Regions from separate parts of the Homo sapiens genome. Here regions 1, 3, 4, 5, 6 and 7 are each linked to region 2. The links are contacts of gene promoters, found by promoter capture Hi-C in blood cells and fetal thymus (Javierre and others, 2016). All regions are on one chromosome and are shown on one strand. The core of a region is centred on a gene start or on the middle of the fragment in contact, and the rest is flanking DNA. Distances in the headings are between cores, read along the strand shown. Region 1 overlaps SH3RF3 (SH3 domain containing ring finger 3). Region 2 holds the start of EDAR (ectodysplasin A receptor). Region 3 overlaps CCDC138 (coiled-coil domain containing 138). Region 4 overlaps SH3RF3 (SH3 domain containing ring finger 3). Region 5 overlaps SH3RF3 (SH3 domain containing ring finger 3). Region 6 overlaps RANBP2 (RAN binding protein 2). Region 7 overlaps SH3RF3 (SH3 domain containing ring finger 3).

Region 1 (2,860 bases), core at 62-2,561, 160 kb before region 2:
CTGGGAAACAGGGGCTCCCTTCCTTGGTCCCTCCATTTCCCAGCTTCCATCCAATGTGGTCACCCAAGTGAGGCCAGAAATGACAGAAAGCACCACATGGATGCTAGGCCTGATTAGACCCATCTGCTGAGCCCCATGTAGGGATGACATTTTGAACCCTAACCAAGACAAAGCTCTAGAAACCAGTTTTAAACACACGAGATAAAAGTCTGGCAACCACAGCATATTGACAGTGTTCATACTTTGATGCATCAACACAGAAGGTTCTTGTCTGCAGTTCCATGTCCACCAACCAGAATCACTGACCAGGTCACTTGGCTGCCGCCCAAATTTGGCTTAATGCTCTGTGGTCACGTAATGAAATTCTTAATAATTTTATAATTGCACTTCATTTTGTCCTCGGCCCTGCAACTGGTGTAGCAAGTCCCGACTGCTAATGTCCCAGAGCAGTGGGAGACCAGGAGTCAGCCCTCAGGAAGCAGGTCTGCAGGAAATCTCAGCTCCAGCAAGATGGTGGCATCGGGGGTCGGGGGGTGGTTAATGTGGCTTTAGCCAAAATGCACCAGAACCCAGCTCAGCACAAAACGCACAGCAGACAAGTACACACCCTGGAGACTAGATCAAGATTCATTCCCAGTGTGTCAGAAATAAAATAACTGGGGTGATCTCATGTTTTACTATGCCACACTCTTTCACAGCGGCAGCTTCCACACACACAGGGCATCTGTCGGGCCCACCTCCTGGGGCAGGTGACCCGGTGATAAGGCATTGCACACTGAGCCGAGCCCATGCTTCCTCTGCTTTTGACCTTAATATTTCTCCTGGCAAGTTTCAGTTATTTCATGTCCTTTCATACCTTCGTTACTTCTTTCTCAGCAGAACTAATCTGTCCAAATTTTGGGCAAAATCAGCGTAATTGCCTTTCCAAACCTCAGCAAAAATACAAATTTTTTTAAATCACTAAGAAGAAGAGAGAAAAAAAGGCATGCAATTTTAGCTTCTTCTCAGAAATGGGTTTCCAGTGACAGCTTAAACACCTACATTCCCTTCAAGAATTAATGTAATTTCTTTTATTAGAAATGAATGTACTCATTCAGCCTCACCCATAGCAGGGTTTAGCAGAACGCTGCAGTGCATAAGTTTAGATGCTGGTTCTGTTCCATTGAAATATTTGCCCCACTGATTCCTTCCCCCTCCATTGGGAATGGGTTTTCTGACAAAAGCTTCACAGTGACTGTCTTGTCTTTGCAGATGGTCCCTTGTCTGTAGACTGGGTCCATTTCTGCCCATCAAAACGTGCTTCTAAGACAGGCTCAAACTCAGCTGCATCATAACAACAATGACTTCACACTAAAGTACTGCCTTTCCCAGAAGTTTTCATCCCAGAGATTAAAGCTTTCAATTGCGTGCCTCCATCGAGAACAAGGAGCAAGTACTAAGATTTACTCTTAAAGTTTGAAAGACAGGTGATATTCACTGTGAGAGGGCCCATGTGAGAGACGGTGATAGGCACCCCACCATCAGGCCATCGGGCCTGGGAGGGGACACTGGGTCCCCCCCGCCCCTCTGCCCATGCCTACTCAAGTTGGAACCCATTAATTGAATTTCCAATGATGAGCTGGGTTCAGCAGTCTTGAAACCATGAAATGCTTACTCTTTATTAAATAATGCCGTTTAAAGAGAATGATAATCCCCACAGCTTTAAATATAAATCTGATAATACACAATGTAAATAATAAAAAGGCAAAAATCCAATTTCCATGCAGTGAACTTTCAAACACTTCGTTGTTTCCAGTAAATGAGCTTTCGCTCTGAATGCTGTAATGCCACTGTAGGCCCATCAGGCACCCGGAACAAGGCTATTATGCTCTCGTTCTCAACTTGAGATCGGAGCCCAGAATTATTTATTTGATTTGCTGTACATGTCAGCTAACAAAAGCAATATAAGAGGGATTTGCCAAATGCACCAGGGAAAGGGCAGGCCACCCACCCACATTCCCCACAACTATAAAGACACACCACAACAACAAGGGGAACATGCCCACCTCCCGTGATTATAGGTACTGCCTGTCACCTCGGAAAATGAACCACCTGACAGGTGACAGTTTTGTGATAATTTATTTCTAAGACGCTGAGCACTTTTCCTAGGAAGAAATGTAATTCCAGACACCAAATTTCATCCTCTCCAAAAAGAGGCTAGGAGAAAAACAAAATTAGACTCCATGTCCATCAAGACCACTGAAAATAGACTGCTGATGAGACTTGTCAGAGAAGTAATAACTTCCCATTGGGAAATTTAAATAATCAGCTGGGTATGAAAAATATCCTCAATCTGGGTTTCAGACCAATTTCTCAGCATGCATTTTATAAGCCCTCCAGGCTGTTATTATATTAACTTCAAACCAAAAATTCCTGCAGTCCTCTGCAGATTCTATCATGATGACAATTCGGAAATCATAGGAAATGTCATATTGTTGCCTATAAACCACAATTTGCAGATGCAAATCTATTAGAGTCATAAAAAGTGCACTGGTGCCAGAACTTTATTATGATATCTGAAGTGGTCTGATCCGTCAGAGCTGAGCCTTTCCATACAGCAGCCACCTGTGGGCACCACATGCCTACTGGGCCCTGGAAACCGGGAAGTGTGACCTCAGATGTACTGCAGGGGTGAAATACACATGGGCTTCAGGCTCAGCATGGATGAAAGGATGCAAATTAATAAGTTTTCATAGTAACTACATGCCGACATATTTTGGATACAGTGGGTTAAATATATTCTTAAAATTAATTTCACCAATTTCTTTTTACCATTTGTGACGTGGCTACCAGAAATTTTTAAATTAAATATGTGGCTCAA
Region 2 (2,764 bases), core at 85-2,584:
CACAATCTCGGCTCACTGCAACTTCCATCTCCTGGGTTCGAACAATTCTCCTGCTTTAGCCTCCACACATGCCACCACCGGCTAATTTTTGTATATTTTTTTTTTTTTTTTTTTTTGAGACGGAGTCTCGCTCTGTCACCCAGGCCGGACTGCGGACTGCAGTGGCGCAATCTCGGCTCACTGCAAGCTCCGCTTCCCGGGTTCACGCCATTCTCCTGCCTCAGCCTCCCGAGTAGCTGGGACTACAGGCGCCCGCCACCACGCCCGGCTAATTTTTTGTATTTTTAGTAGAGACGGGGTTTCACCTTGTTAGCCAGGATGGTCTCGATCTCCTGACCTCATGATCCACCCGCCTCGGCCTCCCAAAGTGCTGGGATTACAGGCGTGAGCCACCGCGCCCGGCCTAATTTTTGTATTTTTAGTAGGGACGGAGTTTCACCATGTTGGCCAGGCTGATCCCAAACTCCTGACCTCAAGTGATCTGCCCGCCTCAGCCTCCAAAGTGCTGGGGTTACAGGTGTGAGCCACGGAGCCCAGACTGTTTCTTTCTTAAGCTCTTACTTTCTCATGTGTGAGTTACCTTGTAGGTTTCCAAGGCAGAGGGGACAAGATGGAAAAGGAGAACACAGAAATCTAGCCTGGAGGAGCTGCTCTGTTCCTGTATTTATCTGTGTAGGTGTGAATGAGGGAGAAAATGACAAGAGAATGACATTATTTTAAGGCTGTTTTCCCCCCCCCAATCATTTACTTTTTGAGAAATAATTGCCCAATACTGAAAGGTATGTCCTTTCAAAATGTTGATGTTTCAAATGGCTTCCTAATTACCTAGTTATACGGGGGGTGTGTATGGTTATCTGAAGTTACATGGGTATACACTGGTGGTGTGAGGTGTCCAGAGAGAGGAAAGGAAGAGCAGTCCTGGTGGCTCAAACCCTGAGGGATGTGCGGGGGATGGGTGAGAATGTGAACAGACATGTTGGAAGCTGAATCCGTGCAGTGGCACCCATGCCTGTAGCCATCTCAGTGGGGGGTCCTTCTACGAACAAGCTTTGATTAATGATATTTTAATGCTAGTTTAGCTTTTTAGCACTCCCACGCCTAAAGGCTCTGATAGAAGCAAGGCCCCCACCCCTGCAAAAAAAAAAATCCATGATTTTTACGCATTCCAACAGATCTCTTAAGGGGCAGACGGCCGGAGAGCCAGGTGTGCCAGGGACCTATGGCAGCAGGGCTGAACGTGCCCGCTCCAGCCTCTCCAGTGCTGGGAGAGACCTCTAGATGGTGCAGGTGAGTTTGCAATGAGGGAAAGCCCCTCGGCAAGGACTGAGTTTCCAAACTTGCAGACAGGGCAGGGAGCGGTCAAGGAAGAGTTCCCGGGAAGCCCTTTAAACGGAAAGGAAGCGGGGCTAGTGTCAGAGAGGTGTGCCAGGTCCCAGGCAGCCCTGCTGGCCCCTAAGGACATAGAGTACCTGCTTCTGAGAGGGCTGCCACGGTGGCCACCTGTGAAGCCTGTCACCCAGAACTGGATGGTACCTGACTTTCTTCATAGACCCATCTTCTGCTGGGACTGAAGCTGACCTCCAACAGAAGCCAGGTAAGCCCTGGTCCTTTCCTCTGGTTTTCTAAACTCTTCAGCTGTGGCCGAGACGGAGGTGTCATGGGCTGGGAGAGAGGCTGGGTGCATTTTTGAAATGCATGTCATTTTTGGGTTGCGTTTGAACAAGCTTTACCGATTGCAGTATGTCTGCGCTACCAGTTCTAAGACCTGAGATTGTTCCTTTGTTTTAGAAAAACATCAGAAACCCTGTTTTGCTGTTGGTTGCACATTTGGTTAGGGAGACAAATTCTGTGTGTGCTTCACAGGCTTTAAGATTTGGGCTACTGAAGCAACGGGTTCCTCCAGGGAGCGTGAAAAGTATGTTTCTCAGGTTTGCCCCTGTGCCCGGCTCACTGGGGAAGGCAGGCGCGGCAGGGACTCTAGCTGGGCTCTGTACCTGCCTCCAACTCTGCGTACCCGCTGTGACCTAAGAGACCTTCCAAGTGGGGTTTCCAGTCGTGTCTGAGACCCCCCATATCCTGGCCTCTGTGTTGGTGGCGGGGGAGCGGGGAGAGGGAGAGAAGGAGGGGAGTGGGTACCTATTTGTGATGATTGAGGTTTTCATTTCCAGCCAAGAGGTTCCTCTCAACACTCTGACAGACCGTGGGGTGGGTTGGGCTCCTAGACAGGAGTCGGCTCTGATTCAGTCGGCTCTGATTCCCAGCCTCCTGCAGCAGCCAAGCTTTGAGATGTCAGCTCAGGGAGAAGCGGGTGGCTGGGCAGGGAGGTCAGCAGGCGAGGTTCCCACTGGGTTTCCCTGCCCATGTTGTGCTGGGTCAGCAACAAGAGGGACAGTTAAAATCAACAAGCAGGGCAGATGCCGGTCAGTGGGCAATCCCACACAGCCAGGGGTACACGCATGTGAGGAGACGTACGGAGAGACAGGAGCACCACCGTCCTCTTCCCCAGTCCCCAGGCCACTGCTCTGTGGCTCTCAAGTGGCATTTTTGAGACACTTTCTAAGCAAGAGTGAAAGTGTAACAAAGAAGTGAAGAGCCATAATAGACTGAAGGAAAAAAGGGATCCAGGCATCTAAAATAGAGAATGTTTCTTGCCTGGCTTAATACTCTGAGATTTGTAAGTCATAGCCACTTAAAACCTTTAAAGATACATTTTGACAGAGGCCACCAAAAAGAGAGTGACTCTGGTCAAGGCTTGGAAATAAGC
Region 3 (2,700 bases), core at 113-2,612, 150 kb after region 2:
TGTTAAATGACAGGATTAAGGTAAACTTTTTTTGTTTTTAAAATTATCTCTAATGCTTTACTACTACACTTTTATAATGAAAAAATAAACTTGAAAAAAAAATGTGGGCCAGGCACAGTGGCTCACGCCTGTAATCCCAGCACTTTGGGAAGCCAAGGCAGGCGGATCACAAGGTCAGGATATCAAGACCATTCTGGCCAACATGGTGAAACCCCGTCTCTACTAAAAATACAAAAATTAACTGGGCTTGGTGGCGTGCACCTGTAATCTCAGCTATTCAGGAGGGTGAGGCAGGAGAATCGCTTGAACCTGGGAGTCGGAGGTTGCAGTGAGCCGAGATCGTGCCACTGCTCTCCAGCCTGGATGACAGAGCAAGACTCTGTCTCAAAAAAAAAAAAAAAAATGTGGATAGTATTTGCCTTTAATTGAAGGAAAAGAGAAAAAACTCCAAAAATAGCACTCTGGGTTGTTGCTGAAGCTTCACCTAAGGATGTTAAAACTTTTGCTGAAACAAATCTAGACCCAAAATGTCTAGTTTTCAATTTAAAATCACCCACCATTCCAAGGACCAGAAAGATTTCAAACTGAATGAAGAAAAGACAATCAACAGCTGCCAACACCGACAGGACAGAATGTTAGAATTGTCTGACAAAGATTCTAAAGTAGCCATGACAAAAGGAACACCTGCATACGCTTTTAGAAAATCTCATCGAAGACACAGAAAGTCTTACCAAAGAAGACATAGAAAAAGAACCAAGTGAATATTTCAGAACTGGAAATACAATAACAGTCTCAATAACAGAATGGAGAGGATGGAGGAAAGAATAACTGGAAAATAAAACAACAGAAAACACCCAACCTGAACAACTGCAAACAACCTGGAAAAATAACAACAACCACCAGAACTTCAAGGAATAGCAAAACATCTAAAATCACGTCATTAGAGTCCAGGAAAGGAAAAATCAGGTAGGGCTGAAAAAGCACTTGAAGAAACTGGGGGCGGTGGCTCACGGTTGCACTCCCGGCACTTTGGGAGGCCAAGATGGAAGATCGCTTGAGCCTGGGAGTTCAAGACCAGCCTGGGCAACATAGGGAGACCCTATCTCTACAAAACAAAAAAAAATTAACCAGGTAAGGTAGTACATGACCGTGGTCCCAGCTTGAGCCCAGGAGGGTGAGGCTGCAGTGAGCCGTGATTGTGCCACTGAACTCCAGCCTGGGCAACAGAGCAAGACCCTGTCTCAAAAAAAAAAAAAAAAAAAAAAGAAAGAAACACACACACACACACACACACACACACACACACAAAACATGAACTTGAAGAAATAATGACTGAAAACTTCCTGGACTTGGCAAAAAACGTGCCCAGAGACTGAAGAAACTAAACAAACACCAAACAGGCTAAAATAAAGAGATCAACACCAAGACCCATCATAGTCAAACTTATAAAAACTAAAGACAAATGTGTGTGAGAGAAATGACACCTTACATATATGGGGAAAATAACTCAAATGACAGATTTCTTATCAGAAACCATGGAGGGCAGAAAGAATTGGCACATTTTTCAAGTACTGAAAGTAAAGAACTGTCACACTAGAATCTGATACCCAGTGAAAATATCCTTCAGTAATTGAAAGGAAATCAAAATATGTTAAGAAAAACTAAGAGTTTGTGTCATCAGCAAACCTACTCTAGGCCAGGTGCGGTGGCTTATGCCTGTAATCCCAGCACTTTGGGAGGCCACGGCAGGTGGATCACTTGAGGTCAGGAGTTCGAGACCAGCCTGGCCAACATGGCGAAACCCCATCTCTACTAAAAATACAAAAAGTAGACAGGCATGGTGGTGGGCGCCTGTAATCCCAGCTACTTGGGAGGGTGAGGCAGGAGCATGGTTTGAACCCAGCAGACGGAGGTTGCAGTGAGCCAAGATCATGCCACTGCACTCTAGCCTGGGCAGCAGAGTGAGACCCTGCCTCAAAAGAAAAAGAAAAATAACTACTCTAAAGAACAGATAAAGAAGTCCTCTAAACAGATAGATAGGATATAATGAAAGAGGGAACTGTGGCACATCTGGAAGGAGAGAAGAACATAGTAAACAAAAATATGGGTAAATACAATAAACTTTCCTTCTCTTCTTGAGTTCTATAAATTCTGTTTGACGGTTGAAGCAAAAATGGTAACATTCTCTAATGTGGTTCTAAGCGTATACAGAAAAGGTTAAGGGATAAAAAGGGAAGTAAAGCTTCTGTGCTTTATTCAAACCGGTAAAATGACCATACCAATAGACTGAATAAGTTCTACATAATGTTGTAGTGAATGCTTATAATTTGATGTTGCCCTGGCATTCATTTTAAATGTAAGTTGGACTTTTTCACCCTAGAAGCAGGGATCAGTCACTTTTAACACTGTTTCCAGTTTTAAATCCCCATCCCCTCCCCCAGTTCCTAAATATGTTTGATTCAGATATCTGCCTTAGACAACTCCTCCCTAATGACCACTTCCCTATGGAATAGCTAGATGAAGCCCGCACAACTTGTCTCACAGACCCTCACACCTCACTACGGACTGTGTGAACATGCCACAGTGACTACCTCCTAGAACTCATGTCTGCTTGCTTTAAACTCAACAAACAAAACAGCCTGTGAAAAACCTGTATGGGTAACATCCTGGACTCCAATAAGGGCACTTGCCCACAGGTCC
Region 4 (3,007 bases), core at 94-2,593, 250 kb before region 2:
GGGCCCTCCCAGCAGAGCTGACCGAACCAAGCCAAACCTCAATGCCTGAGGCCAAGTGGGAGGGAAGAAGGTTGTGTGGGAGGGAGGACGGATGGTTATAAATCTGATTTTCTGCCAACAAAATGTAATACGAGCTTATGTAGGAAATTTCAAAAGATATAAAGAAAAAAAAAGGACATTCCTAAAGTATTTCTTCCAGCCATTTTTTCCCCCAATGCATCTATACCCATATGGCCCTAGAAAAGGGGAGAGGGTCCCACAGCAAGATGAATTTTGTATACTTTTTTTCCACTTCAAATGCTCCAATATCCGTCCATCTTTTATAATGGCCATTACTACAAATGAATTTGTCTTTTCTGTTGTTGTTGTTATATTCTTAGGCTGGAATTGTTAGGTCAAGAGACAAACAAACTGCTTTTTCAGAGAGTTTTTGTTTTGAGGTATGTAAGTACAAACTTATTTCGCTCTCTTCTTGTCATCATTGACTGTCGACTAATTTGTATTAACTTACTAGACAATGAAGCTTCTCATTCTCAGAGCTTACTACTAAGGCCACTTATTTTAAACATATATTTTTAGTAATTATTCTTCTGATGCTCTATAGAGTTCTTTTTGGCCAAAAGGGAGGCATGGAGTTTTTGGGGAGATGTGGACTTGTTTGGATGTGGATTATAAGGAGGTGAGGGAGAAAGAAGATGGAACATGAGAAAAGAAGCGGGGAGCAAGACAGAGAGACAGAGAGAGAGAGATGGAATCAAGTTCCCAAGGGCAGGGGTGGGGGTGGGGGTGTCAGGAGTCCAGTAGGAAGAAGTAACCTTAGAAGAGAAGAGAAACCCCTCAGGGTCTAGAGAGGAGAAGGACGACAGGAGGAAATAGGAAGAAGCTCAGAAGGAAACAGAAGGGTGCTCAGAGGTGGGAGGGAGGGAAGATGAAGGCATTCTCACCTAATGGCCTCTCTGGTTCGTGTGAAATAATCCGTCAGTGGCAGGGGATATTAGAGAAGCTGAAGGTTTGAAACTGCAGCAATGAAAAACCTATTTATCCACAAGTCAAAGTGCCACACCAGGGGACTCTGCTACTGATAGGGACCATCAAGCCCAACCCTGACTCTGGTTTTAGTTTTTGTTGTTTGTATTTTGTTTGTTTGTTTTTTTGTTTGTCGCCCAGGCTGGAGTGCAGAGGTGCGATCTTGGCTCACTGCAAGCTCCGCCTCCCAGGTTTAAGCAATTTTCCTGCCTCAGCCTCCCAAGTAGCTGGGATTACAGGCATGAGCCACCACACCTGACTAATTTTTTTGTATTTTTAGTAAAGATGAGGTTTCAACCATGTTGGACTCCCGACCTCAAGTGATCTGCCCTCCTGGGCCTCCCAAAGTGCTGAAATTATAGGCGTGAGCCACCATGCCTGGCTTCAACCCTGATTTTGCATGTGAGAAAACTGAGGCCCAGAGGTGATAAATGGGTGATCCATGGTTCCACAAGAAGAGAGGGCAGTGCCAAGTCTAGAATCCCCAGGTGTGGTTCACCCACTATGCAATACAACAGCCTTCACTCACATAAGAAAACAGAGAAGGGTCTGGGCCAGAGCCCCGGCCACCACTACAGACAAGTGACTCATCTATCATGAGCCAGCAAGCATTCCACAGAGGATACCCAGCTGCAAGCCCCACTACAACTAGAGCACATTTTGCTATCAGTCACCTCCGCCTGGCTGCCAGTGATTGAGTGACTCCTCACCTTCAGCACACATTTCTCTAAGTCTCCAAGGAGACGGTCGGAAATTCTGTAAGTTGCTGTGAGCTGTGGGGATGAAAGGCAGGTGGCCGTGAAACACCCCTCCCAAAGACAAGGGACTCCCACAGCAGTGCCGCCAGCTCCTTTCCACAGGTGGCTCCATTTAAGCTGGAGCACTTGGCAGAGCAACTCCCTCCCTAAAATCTATTACTCCACCAAGAAAGCTCTTAAAAATCAGTGGCTTCATCGGCCTCTCTTTCCTCCCTGTTATCCTGGATGATCACGCCTGGCTCTGTACCCAGTCTCGTGTGTGCAAACAATGGTGTCTGCCCACTAACCCCGTGTCCCTCATCGGACCGCAGAGTCAAATATGGGGCCAAATTCAAAATCACTTCAGAATATTGTAGTCCGTTTGTTCTAAAAAGCTTTTACTTGATTGGAGGCAAGGAGCAGGGAAGACCCCAATTTTCACTAGAAAACTGTATCCTTATTCTTATTCAGTTCATTTTTGTGTGAGGAGAAAGAAATGACTACTTTGGAAATGACCCATTGAATCTTAACAAAAATACTCCTATAGCCCCCTAGGAAGGGATAAAAGCTTCCATACAGAGACCCCCAAGAAAACAAATCCATGTGAGAAACCCAGGTGAGCTGTTTGCCATCCGTATTTACGGACCCCAGCTCTTTTCGGAGCACTGTGCAGGGCTCACACCCAGGGAAGAAAGAGGTCTGGGGAAGCTCAAAGTGCTCACAGAGTTCTGAGCTCTGGGACACTCGGAAAAGACGTGTCTTGGACGTCTTCTCCTGTATACAACCATCTTGACATTTGGCACTGCATAAACCCAGGGAACTTGCTTATTTTTATTACATTTAACATTGTTCTGTCTACCAGTAGCTTTTCCTCTCATGAACAGAAAGAACTGGAGGCAGAAAAGCCAACTGAAGGGCCCTCTCATCTGTTGTCTCTGATGCATGCACCCCCTCACATAGAGCCAGTGACCACAGTGGAGCTGTATCCTCCCTTGGGACAGAGAGAAGGGACTGCCCCCCACACTGGCTGCTGTCCTCCAGGGCAGACCACACCTCGCCGGGTTTCATCAGGGGCCTTGCCTCTGTATTGCAAGAGCCACAGAGGATGCAAGCATGTAGCAGCTGCCTGGGGGAAGGAAGTCTTGAGCAACAAGGGCATCCGGTCCTCTGTGGAGTGAGGCCATCCTGTGAGCACTCTCCTCCTCCATTCATCACACTCTGGGTTTAAGAAACTCTGAAACAGT
Region 5 (2,826 bases), core at 88-2,587, 180 kb before region 2:
CTAAGACAAGGAAAATGAGAGCCCAGCAGTATCAGATCCCAAACAATTGCTTCCTGCTATGGGCTCCGGAGAGGTGATGCTGCTGATTCAAAACACCAGCCTGGGTGGCCAGGTGCAGCCCAATAATCCACACTGTTTGGAATAACAAGAGCTAGGACGGGACAAGCGGAGGGAGGTAAGAAAGGAAAATTACACCATTAAGGACTATTTTCACTGCAAACACCAAGAGGATAAAAGTTTGCTATCTCAATAAACGTATTTTAATGTTTTTAGGTTACAGTCACAGAAAAAGGAAGACCTCCAGGAGCAGGGAGAGGACGGCTGAGCTCCGTGCATGGTGAAGAGGGGTTTGACCGCTGGCTCGCGCATTTCCACGCTGTTTGCAAGGTCCTTGTCAGGAGAGAAACAGCACAGGCCACACGCAGCTGTTGCCCACAGATCCCTGTGGCGGCTGATACTTCAGACGCTGTGCTCAGAGGCCTGGCTGCCAGAGGACCCTGGTCTGAGAGCTAATGCACAGCTCACTCATCGGCATATTCCAGATGGCTCCGGGAGACCTGCTCCCCACCCGCTCTGCCCCAGGTCATTGCCTGGAACTGGGAAATGACGTGCATATCAAGTTTTCCCTCGTGCTCCAAACCAAGCAACCAAACAGGCCCTCATGGAGCCCACAGTGCTGGGCCCTGCCTTTTATTGGGAAACGGGCGACTCAGCTGAGAATCACGCTGAAAATAAACAAGCTCACCACAGCGAAAGGAGGGAGTCAAGGCTGGGCTCGGCACATGCATGCCCTTTATGGGAACACAGAATGGGAGTTTCAAAGTGAATCCATATAAAACACAAATAGAACATCTTCATTCCTGGATGACAGGCCAGCTTGGGGCAGGCAGCCACTCCCCGCTGCAAGTGAGCGTGGCCGGGATGCACGGCAGGGAGCCAGCCAGCGTGGGCACCAGGAGGGCAGCGCCAGGCGCAGGGGCTGGGCCTCTGGAAGGCATTAGCTGCACCGAACTCCCAAAGGCCCAGACTAAACAGCCCTGGAGCCCTGGATTCATTCCCGCACAGGAAATGTCTCAGAGGCAGCTCTGCACAGACCAGGGGCGGCGAGAAGGAAATAGCTCCCTGTGCTCCGTGTTCTAATGCACTTCCCTGGCCCGCCGCGGGCGAAGCCACAGCGCTGACCATACCCGCGAGCCCAGCAGCAGTGAGGGGTCGGGGTAGGGGGGCAAGCGTGGAGCAGGAGGGGAAGCATTTTTGTTAGGAAGAGTATTTCAAGTCAATATGCAGATAATTTTCTCCGAATATTCATAGTCACTAACAACAAATAGCCATCATTTTGTATAGAGATGACAAAAACTTTGAATTCTTAACAGGCTATAGATAAGAAATAGATATGACAAGGAAATAAAAGGACATTCAACTCTACATATATAACCAAAACAACCAAATACATGTAAGCAAATACAGCCATAATATGGTTATATTTGGTGATGTATGTACTTTATATACATAAATAAACCAAAAAATGTACATATATATAAAACAAAACAAAACCTGAATGATCTAGGTGCTGCAGATTACTGAGGAAGAGATAAGTCACACAGCAAGTGAGCTACATAAAACCAGGATGCCCATGAACCAAACCAGGACACAGACTCCCCCAGCCCCCAGCACCTGGCATGCAGGTGTGCCTCCCGGGCTTGGTTCCTGTGGGGAGCGCCCTGTGTGCCTCTGTGCCTCAGCACCCAGCCCGGTGTGGGCTACCTGCAGGCAACAGCTGCTTAGTGAGGTGATTTATCAGTCCTCTTTGAACAGAGGAAGGTGACGCAAGGTAGCTTACTGAGGGGAGAAAAGCGCCCTCTCTGTTCACAGGTAAACTATGCCCTGTGCACCTGGATGTCAGCTTCCTGAGAGAAACAGATGGGTCATCCGCACCCCTTGAGCCCCAGTGCCTGGCACATGGTCAATGCCCAACAAATATTTATTTAATTAACAAATAACAACCTCAGACTGTGGAGCAGGATGAACCCTTAGGAAATATTCTGTTTGACCAGGCACAGTGGCTCGCACCTGTAATCCCAGCGCTTTGGGTGGCCGAGGCGGGTGGATCACGAGGTTGAGGTCAGGAGATCGAGACCATCCTGGCCAACATAGTGAAACCCCATCTCTACTAAAAATACAAAAATTAGCCAGGCATGGTGGTGTGCGCCTGCAGTCCCAGCTACTCAGGAGGCTGAGGCAGGAGAATCACTTGAACCCGGGAGGCGGAGGTTGCAGTGAGCCGAGATTGTGCCACTGCACTCCAGCCTGGGCAACAGAACAAGATGTGGTCAAAAAAGAAAGAAAGAAAGGAAAGAGAGAGAGAGAGGAGAGAGAGAGAGGAGAGAAGAGAAGAGAAGAGAAGAGAAGAGAAGAGAAGAGAAGAGAAGAGAAGAGAAGAGAAGAGAAGAGAAAAGAAAAGAAGAGAAGAGAAGAGAAAAAAGAGAGAGAAAGAAAACATCTCGTTCATCTGCAGATAAGGAAACAAGAGCCGACGATGGTATTAGGGGTATGTAAAATTATAATCCTCTAAAACACCTTCATAGCCTAAGGAAACTTGTAGAGATTATAGTTTCTGGCAAAGTGTTTTGGCCAAAATGCCATGATTATCAAAACTATAACAGTTATGAGCCATATGAAGATAAAGGACTATTCAGGAAAATAGGATGTGATGTTTCTTTTGTTATCAAGTAAAACATTAAAGTCTCTTAAAGATTTAAAACTCATATACTTCTGCACTTCAATATAAAGCACCTGCCATGCATGCCAGGTGCCAGTGGGAGGGAG
Region 6 (2,705 bases), core at 158-2,657, 210 kb after region 2:
TTCATTAAATTCTGCTGACATTCTTCAAATGTTTTCTTGAAACAATCAGCTACTTCTTTAGTTTTAAATCTCACTGCAAGCTGTTCTACTTTTGCTTCTCCATCTGGCAGGGAGGGAAAGGGGAAGCAGTGACCTTAGTATTAAAATAACTGTTATAAGTTGTTTTGTTTGTTATAGATTTTAGAAAAGTCCAAAAAATGAAAAGTAGCATTTGAATGTAAAAACTCACCAGCATAATCTGAGGCAGTCCAAACTAAAGCATTATTTGAAACATTTAAGGGCTTTAATTCCATTGTTTTAGTAATAACGTGGTTTGCACACACTTTAAAAACCTGGTCTCTTCTCATTAGGATCCGGTAATAATTCTTCATTGTATGCCAAAGAATCTTTATATCTCCAACACCGCGCTCCTTCCACTGACTGACATCCCGATCCCATCTATAAAGTTTGGCTCTCTCTTTAAACAAAATTTCTTCATCTTCTTCTCCAGATTTTACTTCTACCTATAATAGGAGATGAAATTCTCTATAAGCTGCTGCTTATAATAAATTCCATGACAAATTTCAAAGATCCAAATTCTTTTAAGGCATTTTCTTTGTGATGACAAAGAGAATTTGTTAATGTGATAACTGGTTATATATCTTAGGGCTAGGAATATATCTGATTTGGCTGAGGGAGTAAAGACCTGATTTATCATTAAACATTTTCTTTTATATAATATTCATTTTCCCTTTGGAAATTAAATGCTTTTCTTTATAGGACAGAGAGGTTTCAAAAGTGTTTGCTACTGAAGAGAAATATTAGCTACTGACTGAGGTTAAAAAATGACAAAGTAATTTTCCTAGAACAATGTTCTTGTCCAAAAAACATACAAGGTTAACATTTATTGAAAGGACTTTAGTGAGTATGAGGTTAATTTTTCCCCAGAATCATGTTATAAAAACAAACATGATATTCTAGAAACATAAGAAAAAATTATTTCTTACCAATAATTACATATAGAATTTACAAACCAATATTTATGTAAAAACTGTAAAAAGATAATTTATACTTAAAGGCTAGACATCTAATAAATAGAGCTTCCATTTCAAACAGTAAACATTCTTAAATGCAAACAATTATACCCTGACAGATCAAGCCAGGGTAAAACTTAAAAATGAAAAATAAGTTATTAGTAAAAGGTTAATTCCTTAACATTTACCTCTGGTAGTGACACTATTGGTTCAAAATGGATATCTTCATTATGAACTACTTCTTCATCACTACCATCTTCATCTTCACCAACTTTACCGGCTGACTGGGTTCCGACTGACTGTGTTCCAAACACAGCTGCTCCAGTATTTGCCCATTGGAAATTTTTATCTGATGAATAAATCAGGATATTTAAACACTAGTATCTATTTTTTACATTTTTCATCCCCCTCTTATTTTATCAATCCCTCTAATTCCTGATGATGTAATATGTACATCAATTTTAAATGTTTAAAATTATATTATTCTAGTAAATTCCTCACGCCTGTAATCCCAGCACTTTGGGAGGCCGAGGTCACCTGAGGTCAGGGGTTCGAGACCAGCCTGGCCAACATGGTGAAACCCCATCTCTACTAATAATACAAAAATTAGGCTGGGCGCAGTGGCTCACGCCTGTAATCCCAGCACTTTGTGAGGCCGAGGTGAGCGCATCTCCTGAGGTCAGGAGTTCAAGACCAGCCTGACCAACATGGAGAAACCCCGTCTCTACTAAAAATACAAAATTAACCAGGCATGGTGGCATATGCCTGTAATCCCAGCTACTCGGGAGGCTGGGGCAGGAGAATCGCTTGAACCCAGGAGGCGGAGGTTGCGGTGAGCCAAGATGGCACCATTGCACTCCAGCCTGGGCAACAAGAGTGAAACTCCGTCTCAAAAAAAAAAAGAAAGAAAGAAAGAAAAGAAAAGCCGGGAGTGGTGGTATGCGCCTGTGGTCCCAGCTACTTGAGAGGCTGAGGCAGAAGAATCGCTTCAACCTGGGGGGCAGAAGTTGCAGTGAGCTGAGATTGCCCCACTGCACTCCAGCCTGGGCAACAGAGCAAGATTCTGTCTTTAAAAAAAAAAAAAAAAGTTAGCAGTGTGTGGTCATGGGTGACTGATCCCAGCTACTCAGGAGGCTGGGGCAGGAGAATCACTTTAACTTGAGAGGCAGAGGTTGCAGTGATCAGATACCGCCCCACTGCACTCCAGCCTGGACGACAGAGCAAGACTCTGTCTTTAAAAAAAAAAAAAAAAAAAAAATTAGCCGGGCGTGGTGGCGGGTGCCTGTAATCCCAGCTACTCAGGAAGCTAAGGCAGGAGAATCGCTTGAACTTGGGAGGCGGAGGTTGCAATGAGCAGAGATCGTGCCATTGTACTCCAGCCTGGGTGACAGAGCAAGACTCTGTCACCAAAAAAAAAAAGGAAAAAAAGGAAAAAAAAAAAAGCTAGTAAATTCAACTCATACTGTTGAGTACAGAGTACATTTATTATTGTTATGCTTAGCGATACAAAGATAAGACTGTCACTGCCTTGGATAAACTTCCTAATACTAAACTACACAAGGACTTCCAAGTAAAGAAGTAGGTTCTTTTTACCTACTTCTAAAATTTCAAGTACCCACCTTGAAATTTTGTAAACTTAGCTCAGCAGGCCAAACCTGCTACTTCCAAATTAGCCACAATGGCCTAAACATG
Region 7 (3,055 bases), core at 221-2,720, 220 kb before region 2:
GCAACCGCGCCCATGTGGTTTAAACCCAGTTTAAAAACTGGGTGTTCATGACTTGCAGCCCAGAGCACCCAAAGTGATGCAACTGCTTGACTGTGCTTTCAGATTCCTCCGAGCCTTCCCAGGACTGCATCCTCCACCTGCTCAGAGTGCACTCCTACCCTGCTGCCGACACCTGCACACCGCTCAGCACAGGGCTTCCCTGGGATGTGTGGGCAGCATCTGTCTTTTCATCATCCACTATATTCCAATCATCTTTCTCCCCCACCCAACAGAAGTTCCATAAAGCCAAGACTGTGTCTGATCCACCCTTGTTCTTCCAGTGCCCAGCCTGGTATGGCACCTACCCCACACCAGCTCACCAGGAGGTCTAACTCCTCCAGCAGGGAAATACCAGGGGCAGAGGGAACTGACGGGTGGGGGAGAAGGCTGCTTTGGGCCACGGGCAAAGAGAGAATGGGTCTTTATTATACAACAATTAGTTCTGTGATTACAATCAGGTGAGTCCATTTAACACAAGAAAAGGGAGGTTGCTATCTGGAGAAGAAACATTGACAAAGATCAATGAACCCAAAAGATCTGTCAAATGTGTGGGTCAGCCGACTTCTCCTCAAGCCACTCCACTTGATCTCATTTCTCCAGCCAGCTGGGCAAAGCTACCTCAAGCCAACCTCCCTGGAGCTGTCGGAAAGCCTCACAATGCAGTCAGGATGGTTGCTAACAAATTCATTTTGAGACTTTTGTATTGTTTTTCCTTGTCAGGATTCTAAATGAAATACTGTCCAAGTTGGGATTTATAGTCACGTATAACCAGCCAAAGCAGTCCCCTACTTTCCCGACAACATGGTCAGACTCTAATTGAAAACTGCCCCTCCTCCATAGCGAGCCAACTGACTTCCTTCAGCCTTTTCTGGGCAGCCTCATTTCATGGAGTTGGAGGGAAGTGAGGAGTCAAGAAGAGGAGGAAGAAAATCCCAGATCAGACACCAGTGGCTGGTACCCTGACAAGTCATCCAGAAGCCAAACAAAACCACAGCCACCCAGAGGCTCGATTCGGACCATTGCCCGGCAAGCCGCACCAACCACCCATTCACCAGCTTACATTCCAAGTTTCGCTATCTCCCTGGAATTCCGCAAAGCCCACCAGTTACACCAATGCAGGTGCTCAATCAGTCATTTATTGAATTCAGTGGCATTCACATTCAGGTTTCTAGAAAGAGGTAACAGAAATGTGGGAAGGGGCTGGGTGCGGTGTCTCACACCTGTAATCCCAGCACTTTGGGAGGCCGAGGAGGGCGGATCACCTGTGGTCCAGAGTTTGAAACCAGCCTGGCCAACATGGGGAAACCCTGTCTCTCCTAAAAATACAAAAAATAGCTGGGCATGGTGAATGCCTGTAATCCCAGCTACTCAGGGAGGCTGAGGCAGGAGAACTGCTTAAACCCAGCAGGCGGAGGTTGAAGTGAGCCAAGATTGCACCATTGCACTCCACCCTGGGTGACAGAGCGAGACTCCATCTCAAAAAAAAAAAAAAGAAAGAAATGCAGGAAGGGCCGAAGGGCTCATGTGCATCTGTCTGTCTAATGCTCCCCACTGCTGTGCTCTCCAGCACGTAGCTGCCTGCTCTGTGACAGCCCCGGAGCTTGCTGATCCGCTCCTACTGGATACCTGGAAGACTGGGCTCCCCCTCCACCGCAGTTGCGCCCATCTGCATTCTTCTCAGACACGGCCCCTACTCCTTCCGCTCCATGCTTCTTACCTCGCCAGGGCTTCCCTGCTGTTTATAACACCTCCTGATTTAGCATCTTCTGTGAATTTCATTAAATTGCTGTTTACTGTTGCCTCCAGCATTATTAATAAAGATGTTAAACAAAATCCAGGCTTGTAACCAATGCCTTGCTGCAAATGGCAGGACATCCCCTCACCACCTAGCCAGCTGCCATTTATCAGGGTTGCCTCCTTGCCTTTTATCCCAGCCAAGGAGCAGCCCCCACCTGCTTTCAGGTCAGCAGGGCTCACTTCTCCTTTAATTGTGCTTAATTCTGCAAGTAACGTTTTCTCCAGAGGCCCCATAGACACACATAAATGGGCATATTAACCAAAAAGGTGTGCTCCCTACCAGACAGAGCAGAACAGACTCAACTGAAGAGCTGTCATCAACCCGTGTGCCAGGAGGAAGAAGGAACTGAGCAGAGCGGGTGTGCACCCCATCCATCCCCAAACCCAGCCCACTGGGAGGCTCTGACAGGAAAGGACAGCAGCAATTCCACCACGTGTCAAGTGGGGTTGTGTTTTCCTTCACAATTAAAATAAAGATTTCTCACCTAGGTTGTAAATAGATTTTTAAATTTAAAAAGCTACATTTTGTAGTGACTCATGCTTTAGAAATAGGTCGTGCTTGCCAGAGAAGCAGTCGACTAATTCACAGCATTTCTCCCTTTCCTCCCTGCCTACACCCAGAGAGAACCCCGGGAGGAAAACCCAACCTCCTTCCTGGGCCTCCCACCTGGAGTAAGCTCATCAGACCCCACCTCTCCCCTTACTCCAGGCCCCACCAGGCCCAGGCACTTCCCTGAGCTGGACACAATCCACACCTGCAGAGCCACCTGCTTAGGCCATTTGCCCTGAGCTCTTGAAAGCCCCAGATGTCCCATCTCATTGTCTGGTTGGTGTTACTCCAGCCACTGTCTCCCTGGGATGCAGCTCCAGCAGTCTCCAGGCTGCTGGGCAACTCTGAAAACAACATGTAGCCTCACTGTGCTCAATGCCTACAGACAAAACGAGGGAGCACGGAAAAGACCAGGCTTTCCCGCTTTGGACTTCACAGATCAGTGACATTAAAAATCTTGAAATATCATTTTTAGGTCTATACTCAAAAAAACTCAAAGCAAGGACTCAAACAGATGTTTGTACACCTACACGCATAGTGACATTATTCCCAACAGCCAAAAGGCAGAAACACCCAAATGTCTGTGAACAGATGAATGAATACACAAAATGTGGTCTAGCCATACAATGGAATATTATTCAGCATGAAGGAGGAAGGAGATTGTGACGC

Evidence for each region. The method cuts DNA at HindIII sites, captures the fragments that hold promoters and counts their contacts. A CHiCAGO score of 5 or more calls a contact.
Region 1: a fragment that was not itself captured here is called in contact with the fragment with the promoter of EDAR in region 2 in 1 of 17 cell types (naive CD8 T cells); the score reaches 6.3 in naive CD8 T cells.
Region 3: a fragment that was not itself captured here is called in contact with the fragment with the promoter of EDAR in region 2 in 3 of 17 cell types (non-activated CD4 T cells, naive CD4 T cells and naive CD8 T cells); the score reaches 6.4 in non-activated CD4 T cells.
Region 4: a contact is called between a fragment that was not itself captured here and the fragment with the promoter of EDAR in region 2, in 2 of 17 cell types (total CD8 T cells and non-activated CD4 T cells). The highest score is 5.5, in total CD8 T cells.
Region 5: a contact is called between a fragment that was not itself captured here and the fragment with the promoter of EDAR in region 2, in 1 of 17 cell types (non-activated CD4 T cells). The highest score is 5.3, in non-activated CD4 T cells.
Region 6: a fragment that was not itself captured here is called in contact with the fragment with the promoter of EDAR in region 2 in 1 of 17 cell types (total CD4 T cells); the score reaches 5.9 in total CD4 T cells.
Region 7: a fragment that was not itself captured here is called in contact with the fragment with the promoter of EDAR in region 2 in 1 of 17 cell types (non-activated CD4 T cells); the score reaches 6.5 in non-activated CD4 T cells.

The regions. Positions count from the first base shown.
Region 1 is chr2:109,151,452-109,154,311 of GRCh38, reverse strand. All of the region lies in intron 1 of SH3RF3 (SH3 domain containing ring finger 3), which reads right to left. It also overlaps a transcript of RANBP2 not described here. Among named protein-coding and RNA genes, the nearest start is that of MIR4265, 11 kb to the right of the region's middle. The HindIII fragment of the contact is 172 bases long and covers 1,226-1,397 here.
Region 2 is chr2:108,987,790-108,990,553 of GRCh38, reverse strand. EDAR (ectodysplasin A receptor) reads left to right here and starts at 1,334. Exons shown (of 12, transcript NM_022336.4): 1 at 1,334-1,594. It also overlaps a transcript of RANBP2 not described here. RefSeq lists an enhancer at 2,360-2,764. The HindIII fragment of the contact is 677 bases long and covers 1,050-1,726 here.
Region 3 is chr2:108,842,452-108,845,151 of GRCh38, reverse strand. The region is part of intron 11 of CCDC138 (coiled-coil domain containing 138); the gene reads right to left. It also overlaps a transcript of RANBP2 not described here. Among named protein-coding and RNA genes, the nearest start is that of CCDC138, 57 kb to the right of the region's middle. The HindIII fragment of the contact is 1,764 bases long and covers 481-2,244 here.
Region 4 is chr2:109,238,621-109,241,627 of GRCh38, reverse strand. All of the region lies in intron 1 of SH3RF3 (SH3 domain containing ring finger 3), which reads right to left. It also overlaps a transcript of RANBP2 not described here. Among named protein-coding and RNA genes, the nearest start is that of MIR4266, 74 kb to the left of the region's middle. RefSeq lists enhancers at 2,508-2,597, 2,638-2,727, 2,878-3,007. The HindIII fragment of the contact is 1,635 bases long and covers 526-2,160 here.
Region 5 is chr2:109,169,872-109,172,697 of GRCh38, reverse strand. The region is part of intron 1 of SH3RF3 (SH3 domain containing ring finger 3); the gene reads right to left. It also overlaps a transcript of RANBP2 not described here. Among named protein-coding and RNA genes, the nearest start is that of MIR4265, 30 kb to the right of the region's middle. The HindIII fragment of the contact is 6,921 bases long and covers 1-2,826 here.
Region 6 is chr2:108,779,926-108,782,630 of GRCh38, reverse strand. It overlaps RANBP2 (RAN binding protein 2), which reads right to left. Exons shown (of 29, transcript NM_006267.5): 26 at 1,202-1,362; 27 at 230-503; 28 at 1-103. Among named protein-coding and RNA genes, the nearest start is that of CCDC138, 5.5 kb to the left of the region's middle. The HindIII fragment of the contact is 5,453 bases long and covers 1-2,705 here.
Region 7 is chr2:109,210,125-109,213,179 of GRCh38, reverse strand. All of the region lies in intron 1 of SH3RF3 (SH3 domain containing ring finger 3), which reads right to left. It also overlaps a transcript of RANBP2 not described here. Among named protein-coding and RNA genes, the nearest start is that of MIR4265, 70 kb to the right of the region's middle. The HindIII fragment of the contact is 9,606 bases long and covers 1-3,055 here.